3 separate regions of the Homo sapiens genome follow, and regions 1 and 2 are each linked to region 3. The links are contacts of gene promoters, found by promoter capture Hi-C in human tissues and cell types (Jung and others, 2019). All regions are on one chromosome and are shown on one strand. Each heading gives the region's core, a stretch centred on a gene start or on the middle of the fragment in contact. The rest is flanking DNA. Distances are from core to core; before and after follow the strand shown. Region 1 overlaps LOC107984215 (a long non-coding RNA gene). Region 2 has its middle 39 kb from the start of TRN-GTT2-3. Region 3 holds the start of PIP4K2A (phosphatidylinositol-5-phosphate 4-kinase type 2 alpha).

What was found. Contacts are between HindIII fragments. The study calls those that stand out against the background at their distance.
Region 1: a fragment that was not itself captured here is called in contact with the fragment with the promoter of PIP4K2A in region 3 in 1 of the 25 tissues and cell types used here (thymus).
Region 2: a fragment that was not itself captured here is called in contact with the fragment with the promoter of PIP4K2A in region 3 in 1 of the 25 tissues and cell types used here (spleen).

The regions. Positions count from the first base shown.
Region 1 is chr10:23,057,039-23,061,651 of GRCh38, reverse strand. The region is part of intron 2 of LOC107984215 (a long non-coding RNA gene); the gene reads left to right. Among named protein-coding and RNA genes, the nearest start is that of MSRB2, 36 kb to the left of the region's middle. The HindIII fragment of the contact is 7,674 bases long and covers 1-4,613 here.
Region 2 is chr10:22,266,545-22,271,401 of GRCh38, reverse strand. It overlaps the pseudogene RPL31P45. Among named protein-coding and RNA genes, the nearest start is that of TRN-GTT2-3, 39 kb to the right of the region's middle. The HindIII fragment of the contact is 5,423 bases long and covers 1-4,857 here.
Region 3 is chr10:22,712,872-22,717,932 of GRCh38, reverse strand. It overlaps PIP4K2A (phosphatidylinositol-5-phosphate 4-kinase type 2 alpha), which reads left to right and starts at 3,355. Exons shown (of 10, transcript NM_005028.5): 1 at 3,355-3,750. The coding sequence starts at 3,607. RefSeq lists enhancers at 2,493-3,100, 3,101-3,709 and silencers at 2,870-3,539, 3,840-3,919, 4,090-4,209, 4,510-4,619. The HindIII fragment of the contact is 14,782 bases long and covers 1-5,061 here.

The DNA of each region.
Region 1 (4,613 bases), core at 108-2,607, 350 kb before region 3:
CTCTTGCAAATCTGTGTTTTGTTACAGGGACCTCAGCCACATACTTAGTATGGTAGAGGAAAAAGATATGTTTCTCTCCTACAATGGTTTATCATGAATTATCTTAGTAAGGGGATGTACAAAGGTCTGTGCACATGCAAAGTCATAGATGTGAACTTTCTTTTCTTCCTCTCCTCCTCCTCCCTTTCTCCTAGCTTTCCTCCTATGCCTTCTGTCTCTAACTGCAGAAGACCTTATCAATCACTGTAGCAGCAGCAGCATGGTGCAGAGGAAAGAGTGATTTGGAGTCAGGGCTGCCTCTAGATTTCTGTTGTGCTTTGCCACTCTGTGGTTATGTAAAAACAGAGCAGGTGACACCCTCCCTGAGCCTCAATTATCTTAGGTGTGGGTGGGATCGAGCAGCACCTGTCCTCCCTCCCTGACCCAACCTTTCAGTTCATAGGTGAGAAAACAAGGCCCAGAGAGGCACCTGGCTTGGTCTCATGGCTAAGATCCTGCAGGGCTAAGATGAGATCCTGGCCCTTGCATTTAACCCCTGCAGTCACAGCGACCCAGGAGGTGTTAGACACACTCTTGGGATCCAGGACTGTACTGGCTGCTGGAGGAGAGTGGAGGAGAGGTGTGGGGTGGGGAGGGCACAAGCTCTGGTGTAAGCCACAGAACAAGAAGACACTTTCTCTGCTGTTGAGAAGCAGGTTGGTCCTCTTCACTCCTCCCTCAGGAGTAATTGAACTGCTTGCCAGGTTCATCTTGCCCACTGCCAAGATAGAGCGAATTGATCAAGACAGAGGAATTGCAATAGAGAAAGAATTTAATACACATAGAGCCAGCTGAACAAGAGACCAGAGTCTCTTATTATTACTGAAATCAGCCTCCCCAAAACTTTGGAAGCCAGGGTCTTTTGAAGACACTTTGGTGGGCAGGGTGCCAGGGAATGGGGAACACTGATGGGTTGGTTTGGGGATGAAATCATAAGGAGCTGAAGCTGTCCCCTTGCACTGAGTCAGTTCCCCTGGGTTTGGACCCCAAGACCAGATGAGCCAGTTTACTGGGCTAGTTGGCACCCGCTGATCCATTGGAATTCAGGTTCTGAAGAATACCTCAAACACCAATCTTACCATTACAATAGTAATGGTATCCATAGAAATAATTGGAGAGATTTGTAATCTTGTGACTTCCAGCTGTGATGTGGTTTGGATATTTGTCCCCTCTGAATCTCATGTTGAAATGTGATTCCCAATGTTGGAGGTGGGGCCTGATGGGAGGTGATTGGATCATGGGGGTGGATCACTCATGAATGGGATCCCTTTGGTGATAAGTGAGTTCTCGCTCTGAGTTCACTCAAAATCTGGTTGTTTGAAAGTTCGTGGTGCTACCCCCCCCCGTCTCCCCTGCTCCTGCCATATGATATACCTGCTCCCCTTTTACCTTCCGCCATGATTCTAAGTTTCCTGAGCCCTCACCAGAAGCAGATGCTGGAGCTGTGCTGCTACAGCCTGCAGAACCATGAGCCAATTACACCTCTTTTCTTTATAAATTACCCAGCCTCCAGTATTTCTTTATAGCAATGCAAGAATGGCTTAACACAGGCTGCATGACTTCTGGGCCATAACTTCTAATCTTGTGGCTAATTTGTTGGTTTTACAAAGGTGGTCTGGTTACCAAGTAAGGAGGGGGTTTGTTTGGGGAGGGGCTGTTATCATCTTTGTTGCAAAGTTAAACTAAAAACTAAATTCCTCCCAAAGTTAGTTCTGCCTATGCCCAGGAACAAACAAGGGCAGCTCAGAGATTAGAAGCAAGATAGAGTTGGTTAGGTCAGATTTATTTTACTGTCATGATTTTCCTATGTCAAATTTTCCTCACTGTCATAACTTTTGCAACGGTGGTTTCAGTAGGAAAATAACTTCCTTGGGAGTGCTGAGACCTGTATTCTGAATCAGCATTGCCGGGAGTTTATAAAAAAGACCTGGGGCAAATCACTTTGCTCCACTGGGCCTCAGTTTTTCCCTCGCTGTAAAATAAGGTTGAACAAAATGGACTCTAGGAATCCGTCAAGCCCTAAAACTCTATTATAGTATTATTGAACCTAATTGTAGCACAAGCCTTTGTTTCATTAACTGTAGATTTGAAACCCTCATTTGCTCTAGGAATCCTTTGGTTGCTGTAAGAATATTATGACTTGTTATTTCTACCTTTAGTGATGGTATCTATGCAATAGGGAAGATAATAAAAATTCTTTCTGGAAAAATAAAAAATAAAAAGTAAATGGGTCACTCATATAAGTGAACTCTGAATAAGCTGTAAGTAGACTATTTGAAGCAGAGAGAAGAATCTATTTTCTAGGATACTATAATCCCTTTTAAGTGAATTCTTAGTGTGATTATCAGATGATAAGTTCTTCAGAGTTGTTTTGCAAATAAATGATGAAAGAGGGGAGGGGGTGTAGTGAGAGGGTAAGTTCCACTGGTTGATGAGACACAATCCTCAGATTGGTCTCTCACCCATATTTGCAGGAGAGCTTGTTCAGAAATCTGAGATTACATGATACAGGATGAAACTACATCAGAGTCAACCACCTAGACTAGGCTAACCTTTATAAAAACAGCCTCCATCACATAATGTTTAACATGTAAAGATAAGTGCTAGAATTTTCTTCCCTTGCTCACTGTTCTGGCACTTAGCATAAGAAAAATGTCTTCATAACCCCGCGTACTGTTCACTTGTGTTCAACACATGCTCAGGAAACACTACAGATCACATTGTCTATGCTGCAAGCTTCCATACCTGCCCTGTTTCTGCTCCAACTGCATGCACACTTAGGATTCTGTTCCAGAAGCTCAGTGATACCGTCTAGAGCAGTTCAAACAGGAGAACAACTTTTCTTCTATTTTTAATTTAAAGATTAACATAAGTTTTATTTCTATTTTTAATTAAAGATTTGAGAGTTCAAACGGTTTTTAAAAAGGTTTTGAACTTAGAGGAGAGCAAATCAGGTGTCTGTTATTACTTGCTCTGTGGCCTCAGGAATTTTGCACTATGGGCTGGGGTGGGGCTGGTTTGGATATGCCTCGCAGTTGCATTGGACCTGTTGTCCAAGAGTTTCTGGTTAATACAGAAACGCAGTCCTGAGGTGCACAGAATCACTGGGACAGGTGTGTCAGAGAACATTCAGAATAGAAGAAAGGTTGGCAAACATAGACAAAGGAATCAGAGCCTTAAACACCATCTTTCAAAGTCTAGGAAACTGGGAGCAAAATTTCCACTTTTGTTTGGCATATTCTCAGGGTTTTGGAACTTTTCAGAAGCAATACAGAAAAAAAAATGACAAAACAAAAGAAACAGCATTTTCTTTAAAAGGGAAAAAGGAAAAAACTGTTGGCCACTCATTGTCATATCTAGAGAATGGAGAAAATTAAGAAAACCAAAGGGCTTTTTACTTTTCATTTATATGCATGAGTAAAACCTTAGTTTTATCTTGTTGCTTTTAGTGGAAGAAAGACATTTTCAAATTGTATTCACGGATTGATTTTTTGGAATAGATGTAGCTTCTTTAGATTTCATCAGAAAAGAATTCTTTTCTATTATAACTATTTGAAAACAGTATATTTTTAGCCATTAAACAGAACTTTTGGAGCTGTGACCAAGTAGTTTTTGGAGCAGTCCATGAGTTTGGGTGTTTGTGTGGATGGAGTTCAGAACACACTGCTCCATATACGATACGCTGACATTTGAGGAAACAGCAGAAGCAGGAAGGTCTCTTTCACCTCCTTCTCACCCTTCTCCCCTGAAACAGGTAATAAGACCTTCATCTGAGAAGTTCCCACTCTATACCTGTCTTTATCTCTGCAGACACAGGGACACAGAGAACACTCTGAACAAACAGGTCTTGCTAACTTTGTAACCACAGGACCAGCCCAAATTGTGCCTAGTCTGTTGATAACAAAATGTCAAGTTACTTTGTAGGTAAAGCAGGGCCGAAAATGGCAAGCCATGTACTTTTTAGGTAAAACAGGGCCAAAAATTGCAGGCGTGCACAATAGACAAAGCTTTGACCTCTAACAACACCTGGAACCAATGATTCCTTCCCTTAGAACCAAAAAGACCAGGGCATGACCCAAACCTGAATGCTGTAACTCTTTCAGAAGATCTGGGGCAAAAATCTGTCTCGACATCCCTGTGATGGTTAACATAGAGTGTCAACTTGATTGGATTGAAGGATGCAAAGTATTGTTCCTGAGTATGTCTGTGAGGGTGTTGCCAAAGATTAACATTTGAGTCAGTGAACTGGGAAAGGCAGACCCACTCTCAATCTTAGAGGGCACCATCTAATCAGCTGCCAGCGTGGCTAGGATAAAAGCAGGCAGAGGAGCGTGGAAGGACTTGAGTTGCTGAGTCTTCCAGCCTTCAGCTTTCTCCTGTGCTCAGTGCTTCCTGCCCTCGAAGATCAGACTCCAAGTTCTTCAACTTTTGGACTCTCGACTCACACCAGTAGTTTGCCAGCAGCCCTCGGGCCTTTGGCCACAGACTGAAGGCTGCACTGTTGGCATCCCTACTTTTGAGGTTTTGGAACTCAGGCTGGCTTCCTTGCTCCTCAGCTTGCAGATGGCCTATTG
Region 2 (4,857 bases), core at 1,426-3,925, 450 kb after region 3:
AATGTATAGAGTAGGAGTTCACCAAAACTCAGACGTAGCTCTTTTTTTTTTTTTTTTTTAAGACAGGGTCTTACTCTGTCACCCAGGCTGCTGGAGTGCAGTGGCACCATCAGGGCTCACTGCAGCCTCAAACTCCTGGGCTCAAGTGATCCTTCTGCCTCAGCCTCTCAGGTAGTTGGGACTACAGAAGTGTGCACGCCACCATGCCTGGCTAACATTTTTATTTTTATTTTTGGTAGAGGTGGGGTTTCGCTATGTTGCCCAGGCTGGTTTCAAACTCCTGGTCTCAAACAATCCTCCCACCTTGGTCGCTCAAAGTGTTGGGATTACAGGCATGAGCCACTGCACCAGCCAGCATCTTATGTTTCTTAATGTGAGATTTCATTTTCCAGAAGTCAGTAAAGATCTAAGCTCTGATGTCAGACTGCCTGGGCTTCAATCTTGAGTCTGCTAGTTACTGAGTGTGCACAGGTGCATGAATCTTTTCTCCAAAACTTATTTTTTCATCTTTAAATGAAGGTAATCGTAGTACTGTTGTAAGAACTGAATGAAGTAATTCAGTAATTTAAAGTGCCTGGTATCTAGTACACATTTAACAATGACAAATTATTATCATCATCATTATTATCAACATCAGGTCAGAGAAGGGACTGACAGCTTTTATTCTTGATATTTTTCTTCTCAGCTTGCAAAAGAGCCCTTCACTCTTTAGAAAATAAAAATACAACCAGTTTGCTTTTTTTTTTTTTTTTTGAGATGGAGTCTTGCTCTGTCGCCCAGGCTGGAATGAAGTGGTGTGAATTCGGCTCACTGCAACCTCCACCTCCTGGGTTCAAGTGATTCTCCTGCCTCAGCCTCCCGAGTAGCTGGAATTACAGAAGTGTGCCCCCATGCTCCACTAATTTTTGTATTTTTAATAGAGATGGGGTTTCACCATGTTGGCCAAGCTGGTCTTGAACTCCTGACCTCAAGAGATCTGCCTGCCTTGGCCTCCCAAAGTGCTGGGATTACAGCTGTGAGCCACTGCACCCGGCTAGTCTCCTATTCTACAGGGAACTATGACTAAGAGTTGTTTCAAATTTTAACTTAATAGTGAGCTCTATTTAGAAAGCATTTTTATTCTTTAAAAGAATATTTTGATTTACACATTTCTCATTTAAGCTATGATGAAGTTTTCATAAATTTGACGTGGGACAAAAATGCAAGTAGTAGGATTACCAACTTGCATGATACTTTTTAGGTACTTTTTAGGAAACCTGAATATTGATAAGACATAAATTGTGTCCATAAATTAATACTTTCTTCCCCAAATACAGCAAAACTATTTATGCAAGTATATTGTTTCCTTCAGAATAATAGCTTTCATTCATTCAACAAATATGTATCTAGCTCCTCCTGTGTTCCAGGGACTCTTTTGGGTGCTAGAGATGTAGTGATAAACATAACACAATCCTTGCTTTTAAGGAACTTACAGTTGGAGCCAGAAGAGTACACAGACAACTTCAGGACAGCTTAAGGAGTACAACCGAGTATGGGATACAATGAGGTACCCAAAAAATAGGGGTGAAAGAAGGTTCCCTGGTGGAGGTGAAGATCATGGGCCTCAGTCGTTAGGCAAGAAAAGTGGACAGAGGAGGTAGGTTACAGTTCTGGGGTTACTGTGTAGATATCTGGAGGCAAAAGAGTGTGAGGCGTATTTATGGAGCCACATGTAATTCAGTATGGTCCCATCTTGTAGGGCAGTGAGGAGTGACCAGAGATGCAGCTAGGGAGAAGAACAGGGTTCAGATAATAAAAAATCGTGTATGCCACACCAAGGGTTTTGGATTTTATTTTATTAGTATTATTTTCGAGATGAAGTCTTGCTGTGCCATCCAGGCTGGAGTGCAGTGGCGTGATCTCAGCTCACTGCAACCTCCACCTCCTGGCTTCAGACGATTCTCCTGTCTCAGCGTCCCGAGTAGCTGGGATTACAGGCATGCCCGGCTAATTTTTGTCGTTTTAGTAGAGATGCGGTTTCACCATGTTGGCGAGGCTGGTCTCAAACTGGCTGGTCTCGAACTCCTGACCTCATGATCCGCCTGCCTCAGCCTCCCAAACTGCTGGGATTACAGGCGTGAGCCACCATGCCCGGCCGGGTTTTGGAATTTATTGTGAATGCGTTGGAGAAGCAAGGACTGATTTTAAGGAGGGAAGTCTCCAACAGGTTACTCCCTTATTCAATAATTCTCCTTTACTCAAAATTGAGATTTTCTCATTTTAAGAGAATGCCTCTTAAATGGCCTTCAGCTCACTCTTTTGAATGGACTCAATGCTAATAAATGCGTTTGAGAATGAACTTGAACTGGGAGTGGAATGGGAAGCAGAAACCTTTTAGAGGAACTGTGTTTAGTAAACAAACTTGATGAAGCAGGTTAATTACTATTTGGGGTAAAAATTTTGCTCTGATTAGAAAGCCATGAGGCTGAATCATTGCGTCTTATTGCATTTCATAAAACAGACATTTCTGTGCTTTTGAATTTGTTAATTGGATGGCCAATCACATTTTTAACTGGCTTGACAACAGCAGAATCCTTCAAATGCTGTAAAGGAATCTCATCTAGTTTTAAAAATATGGCAGCCTGGGAAGCTTCTGGTTGGGGCCAGGACGCTGCAGTCAGAGCAGGGCTGTGTGCAACCACTGCCTGCTGCCCACACATCGCTCCACAGTCTAGTTTGTGGTCCCACTCTAAATCATCTCAGAAATCACTGCTGTCATTTGGGTGTGGGTTTCTCACCTGGCAGTGCTGTCTACCAGTGTTTGGAACATTTCTATATGCATTTATCTTCTTTAAAGTGTTGGTGCAAACATGTCCAGTTAAATTCTGTGATGTGTGGAGTCTTTCTCACTATAGTAATATGGTTTAAGGCCAATACTGACCATCTTTTACACTCATCCTGTTCATAGTTTATGGCAAGCATATGGAGGAAAGTCTGTATTTTTTTGTTTTTGTTTTTTGTTCTTTTTGAGAAAGAAAGTAGAGATTCATGTTTGAGACCAACTTAAAATATTCTACTAACATTATTTTATAGCCATAAAGTGTCTATTCCCCAATTTTTATTTATGATATGTAGCATTAGTGATAGTTTTTCTAATTTGGGAGCTCAGATGTCTTTACTTTTTGTGGTTTTATAATTTTATTTCATGTATTTGACGATCACTGCTTAGTTCTCATCCATATTGACTATAATTTTTTTTTTCTTGAGACAGGATATGGCTCTGTCGCCCAGGCTGGAGTGCAGTGATGCCATCTCGGCTCACTGCAGGCTTGACCTCCCAATCTCAAACAATTCTCTCACTTTAGCCTCCAGAGTAGCTGGGACCACAGGCGTGTGCCACCATGCCCAGCTAATTGTGTGTGTGTGTGTGTGTGTGTGTTTGGTTATTTTTTTTGAGACGGAGTCTTGCTCTGTCACCCAGGCTGGAGTGCAGTGGTGTGATCTTGGCTTGCTGCAACCCCCATCTCCTGGGTTAAAGCGATTCTTCTGCCTCAGCCTCCCGAGTAGCTGGGATTACAGATGTATGCCACCACACCCAACTAATTTTTGTACTTTTAGTAGAGATGGGGTTTCACCATGTTGGCCAGGCCGGTCTAGAACTCCTGACCTCAGGTGATGCACCCGCCTTGGCCTCCCACAGTGCTGGGATTACAGGCGTGAGCCACCACACCTGGGTTTTTTTTTTTTTTTTGAGATGGAGTCTCACTCTGTTGCCCAGGCTGGAGTGCAGTGGCACAATCTCGGTTCACTGCAACCTCCACCTCCCAGGTTCAAGCAACTCTATTGCCTCAGCCTCCCAAGTAGCTGGGATTAAAGGCGTGGGCCACCATGCCCAGCTAATTTTTCTGTATTTTTAGTAGAGATGGGGTTTCACCATGCCCGGCATTTTTTGTGTTTTTTTTGTAGAGGCAAGGTTTCACCATGTTGCCCAGGCTGGTCTCAAACTCTTGAGCTCAAGTGATCCGCCTGCCTCAACCTCCCAAAGTGCTAGGATTATAGGCATGACCACCGTATCCTGCCTGTCTGTAGATTTTTGAAAGTGGTAACAGGTGCATAGGTAACCAAAGTATAGAACTTATTTGGTGAATCTTCATCCTCATCACGTTTTCTGGATAACCACACATGGGTGGGTATGGGACACCCTTATTCCTTCAGCCTAGACAGCTTTGTCAAGCCTGGTATCAACACGCACATCTGGAGTTCCCACCTCCTTCACAGCAAATTTCCAGATCTCTTTGAATGCCCAAGGGACACACTTCTTGAAGCCTACTCCATGGATGCATTTCTGAATGTTGATGGTGTATTCTTGGGCCACCACCTTGCTGATGGCAGAACAGCCTTTCTTCTTTCCACCCTTCTTTGCAGCAGCCATTGTGCCAGGCCCAAGTTGGAAAGGAGCCAGATGTCTTTACTTAATAGTTTTTCTCCTTTAGCAGACATAGTCTTATAATCCTATCTATTTCCAGAAAGGGTTTCTGCCATGTGGAAAAAAACATATGCAACAAAGTGAAATAAAAATAAGTAAGGGAACCAAGAAAAAGGGAAATAAGAGTAGAAAAGACAGAATCAGAAGAGAGGTTATCACACAAAATATATACAAAGAAGACTATACTTTCAGGAAAAATCCATGCATTTGCCTTAAAACTTCTTAAGAGTCAAGAGGGAAAAAAACACCATTAGTTGTAATTCTCAGTGCCTAGGTGATTTAGAGAAATCACACATACCACCACCATTACCAGCAGCAGTAGCTGTGCCCTTGGAGAAAGAAGCCTGGTAATTTGTGATTCTGAGACCAAAGAAATTTATCTTGCTTCAGGC
Region 3 (5,061 bases), core at 2,106-4,605:
GTGCAGTGGTGCAGTCATAGCTCACTGCAGCCTCAGTGATCCTCCTGCCTCAGCCTCCCAAGTAACTGAGACCACAGGATGCATACCACCATGTGCAGCTAATTTAAATTTTTTTTTTTTTTTTTGGTAGAAATGAGATCTCGCTATTATATCCAGGCTACCCTTGAACTCCTGGGCTCAAGTGATTCTCCCATCTTGGCGTCCCAAAAGTGCTGGGATTACAGGCATCAGCCAGCATGCCCAGATGGTTTTAGACACTTTTAAAAGATGCCTGTGGAAAAATGATGTACAAATGTGCAACCAGGCATTTCTCTGGGGTCGGGGAAGAGTTTATGAGTTACTTGCAAGCACTCTACATTTTCTATTGTGTTGTCTGGTTTACAAAGGGTTTTCATTGCCATTATCTACTATTGATTTTGATTCTAACAAACATCCTATAATGTAGGTAGGGGAGGATTATATTACTAGGTTCAAAATAGTTCCTAAAGTGACATTTGTGTCTGATGATAGTTACTGTTAACATAAAGAACCCGAGGCTGGGAGAGGTTAAGTGATTTGCTCAAGTAAGTGGGAGAGCTACAGCTCAGTCCCCGTGATGTCTCACTAAAAATTTAGGTTTTGGGCTTTTTTAAACCACTAAGAGCAGTGATGGTTGATGCTGGAGAAGCAGATATCATTTTGGATGAAAGCAAGCAGGAAATTACGACGAGGGGACTTAAAAAACAGTCAAAGAAAGAATAGGAGCAAATGAAGGTGACCACATGACCTCCCCTCAACCCCTGAGGAGACTCAAGATCCTAAAGGGATAATGGCCTGTCATCCTTCATCTCCCTGACAGGACCAAGCAGTCTGCCAAGGGCACAGAAGGTATCTACTATATTTGAGTGGAGTAATAATGACAACAGACAACTTACAGCGGGTCCTCAAATACTGTCATTTTGTTCAATGTTGTTTTGTTATAATGTTGATGAGAAAAAAATGGATTTCTAGCCGGGACCACTGTTTGTATTTGCAGGTTCTCCTCGTGCCTGCAAGAGTTTTCTTTGGGTACCTTGGTTTCCTCTCACATCTTAAAGACATGCACGTTCAGTTCATAGGCTTGTCTACATGATACCAGTAGTTTTTCTTTTCTTTTTTTTTTTTTGTTTTAAGAGACGGGGTCTCCATCTATTACCCAAGCTAGAGTGTAGTGGCATTATCACAGCTCACTGCAGCCTCCAACTCCTGGGCTCAAGCAATCCGCCTACTGCAGCCTCCAGAATAGCTGAGACTACAGGTGTGTACCACCATGCCTGGTTAATTTTTGTATTTATGGTAGAGATGGGGTTTCACCATATTGCTCAGGCTGGTCTCCAACTCCTGGGCTCAAGCAGTCCACCTGCCTCATGCCTCCCAAAGTGCTGGGACTACAGGCATGAATCACTGCCCCCTTCCTAAATGGTCCCAGTTTAAGTGAGTGTAGGGGTGTGTGTGTGTGTGTGTGGTGTGTGTGTGTGTGTGTGTGTGTGTGTGTGTGTCTTGCAACAGAATGGCATCCTATCCAGGGATGGTTCCCACCTTTTGCCCAAGCTGAGCAGCTGGGATAAGGCTCCCACTATCTGTGACCTTGAACTGGAATAAATGAGTTGGAAAAATGAATAAATCCGTGAAACAAATGACTGTAAAATAAAAATATGTAAGTGTACATTAATCATAAAAATGCACGACAATAAATGAGATAGGAGTGCACTCAGCTACCATATTTGTGATTGTTTTTGAATTTCATGGTAGCAGCAGGTCCTACAGGCAACTTTTGCTTTGCAAACACTTATTCCTTGACTTAACCCAGCACCACAGCAACCATCGCTCACTTAATCACTAGAAATTTGGCAAACCATTATCTTGTTTTTATCAATCTTTAAAAAATGTAGGTAGGCCAGGTGCAGTGGCTGGTGCCTGTATTCCCAGCACTTTAGGAGGCCAAGGTGGGCAGATTCCTTAAGCCCAGGAGTTCGAGACCAACCTGGGCAGCATGGTGAAACCCCATCTCTACCAAAAATACAAGAAGTTTATCCAGGCTTGGTGGTGCGCGCCTGTAGTCTCAACTACTGGGGAGTCTGAAGTGGGAGAATCACCTGAGTCTGGGGAAGTAGAGCCTGCAGTGAGCTGTGATTGCACCACTGCACCCCCAGCCTGGTTGACACAGCGAGACCCTATCTCAAGGGAAAAAATAAAAATAAAAAAGAGGTATAGCTCACATTTATTTTAATGTTTAATATTAGAAGTGTTTTGAATTTTTACTTTGAAGTTCGGTGATGTTTTTGTAACCGGAAATAATGCTGTAGGAACTTAACTCTTTTTTTATATGTCAGCCTATGGCAAATTTGGTTTTGTTATATGTTGTTTTGCTTAAGGTGACAGTTTCCAAGAACCTACTCCGTGAGGACTGGTGAGCTGGGTCAGAGTAAATAGCACAGGATGACGACTGCAAGGACGATATGGGGGCAGCAGGGTTTTAGACATACTTGGAATGGCAGCTTCCTGAGGTAGGCCAAGTATTCTCAGCATAATAAGGGCTACATTTAGGTGTATCTGGAGGAAGACGGTGAACAGATTTCCACGGACGGTGAGTGCACTGGAAAACAGGCAGGGATGGCAAGTACCATAGTGATGGATTGGAAGAAGGTGCACTTTGGGGCATGATTCTACTGGTTAAGCCAAGGGCTCTCGATGAGGTCCGAGGTTCCTGCCCCGGGCACGGAGTGGGTTGGCAGTGACAGCCCAGCCTATTACGTGGGAGTCTCCCTCTTGAATGGCTCCAGGAGGCCCATATCGAGGGTCTGAAAGGCCAGACGGTTATCCGCACAAAAGTATTAAGTTCATTTCAGGGACTGACCCGGCAATGTGCCCGGGTCCTTCCCCTCGGTGCTGGGAAGCCCTGGTCTCCCTGCAGCATTTCACACCTGGCTGGGTCTCCTGACTCGTGGCGTGGGTGAGTGCATGAGCCTCCCTCCTTCGCCTGATCGACGCCTGGGGGCTCCTCTCCCCAACCTCCTCACTCTGCCCACTCTGTCCTCTCCCTCCTTGGGGAGCGGCAGGGGACGCCTAGCCGGGGTCCCCAGGCTCCCGCTCGCAACCCACGGCCTCCTCCGCGGGCAGGGAGCGAACGCCCGGAGGTCGCCCGCGCACAGGGGGCGGCCCGGCTGCAGCGGAGCCGGGGCGGGAAGGCGCAGCCTAACGGTCCAGCTGCCGCGCCCCGCGCCCCGCACCCAGTGCCCCGCCCGCGGCGCCGCAGCCGCCTCCCGCCTGCCCGCCCGCCCCCTGCGTCATGACGCCGGCGCCCAACGCGGAAGCCGCTCGCCGCGCGCCGGGTCCAGCCGCGGGCTGAGCGCGGATCCGCGGCGGGCGCAGGATACGGGCCGGGGCGCGAGCCGAGCGCAGTCTGCCGGGCCGAGCGGGCGGAGCGAGCCGAGTGGGGCTGAGCGCGCCGGCGGCGGCGGGCGGAGCGGAGCGCGGCGCGCCGGGGCCGCCGCCGGGGGGATGCGGCTGCCTCCCCGGGCCGGGGTGTAGAGAGGGCGGGTCCCCGGCCTCGGGAGCACGGCGGTGGAGGGGACATAGGAGGCGGCCATGGCGACCCCCGGCAACCTAGGGTCCTCTGTCCTGGCGAGCAAGACCAAGACCAAGAAGAAGCACTTCGTAGCGCAGAAAGTGAAGCTGTTTCGGGCCAGCGACCCGCTGCTCAGCGTCCTCATGTGGGGGGTAAACCACTCGGTAAGGGCTCAGCTGCGGCGCGCGGTCCCCTTCCTCCTCCTCCTCTTCCTCCTCGTTCCCCTCCTCCTCCGGCTGCAGCTGCTGCGGGGCGGGGAGCCGGAGTCAGCCCTGGACCTCCGGCTGCTCGCCCGCCTCGAAGCCCCCAGCCCCGCGGCGCGTGCCCCCAGCCCTCTGGGCCGCCCAGGCACCACCACTTGCGTCCCCTTTAGATCTATGGCCCGGTGCGGGTCGGGGGTCCCGTGTGCATGTGAGTCTCACGGTGGGTGCCAGTGCCGCCCCCGGTCCGCCCGCCCGCCCGCAGGTCGGTCCCCGCAGCCTGGGAGGTAGGAAGTTTGTGCGGGGCACGGCGCCTCGGCTGTCAGCCCCGGCGGGAGCTGCTGGGGGCCGGGTCCGGGCGACCGCTACCCGGTGTGGGGGCCGCGCGGCGCCCGCGTCTTCCGCTTGCGGGCAGGTGTACCTGTCCCGGGCTGGGCGCGTGCGAGCCTCCCACTGGGGCACTGGGGCGAGGATACCGGAGCGCGAGCAGATTTGGGGCAGCAGCTTTAGTGCTTAGGTCCTTTCTTTTTCCTTTAAAGGCAATATTACTGGGCACAAGTCGGCTTTTTGGCAAAGCAGCAGCCGATGTAAATATGGCTCTGGCGTCGGGCGGCATCCCTGCGCTTCTCCCGCATCGCCCTGCCGCTGTGCGGGCTGGAGAGCCCTTGGCGGGGAGTCTTCCTCCCTTCGTCGCCTCCCCCCACTTTGGGGAGTCAGGCAGAAGTCACCGACTGCGGAAGGGCGGCCGGGGCGGGGACAGCAGGCGGGGGTCCCGGCGGGCGCGGGCGGAGGGGGTCCCGAGTTGGCCGCACCCGCTGTGGGGGGTGTGGGAAAGGCTGGAGAACGCGTGGAAAGGTTAGCGTCACGCACAGTCGGGGATTGGAGGATGCGCCGCTGCGGGCTATGCGGACTGCGGTTCGAGGGTCTGAAATAGCCTCCTGCTGATCTGACAGCGAGAAACTCCTGCAGTTTTAATCCACTTCGATAGGATCAGGAAACATGATCGGAGCTGTTGGCTCAGCCAGGAAAGTTTAAACGAGCTGTGAATTTTGACCATGACCTTAGCCACTGCAGTCACTTAGCATCTGGGGAAAAGTGTAAGTTCGCTTTCCCTGCTTTTGATTTCGATGGATGTCTGTATGTCCTTTTCAGCGTAATGGAAATGACAGAAAACCATGCTGGTTTTTCGGAAAACACACACACAGACACACACACACACACACACACACACACCCTCAATGTAGTGAAGTTGTTTAAAATGCCTAAAAGCATCGT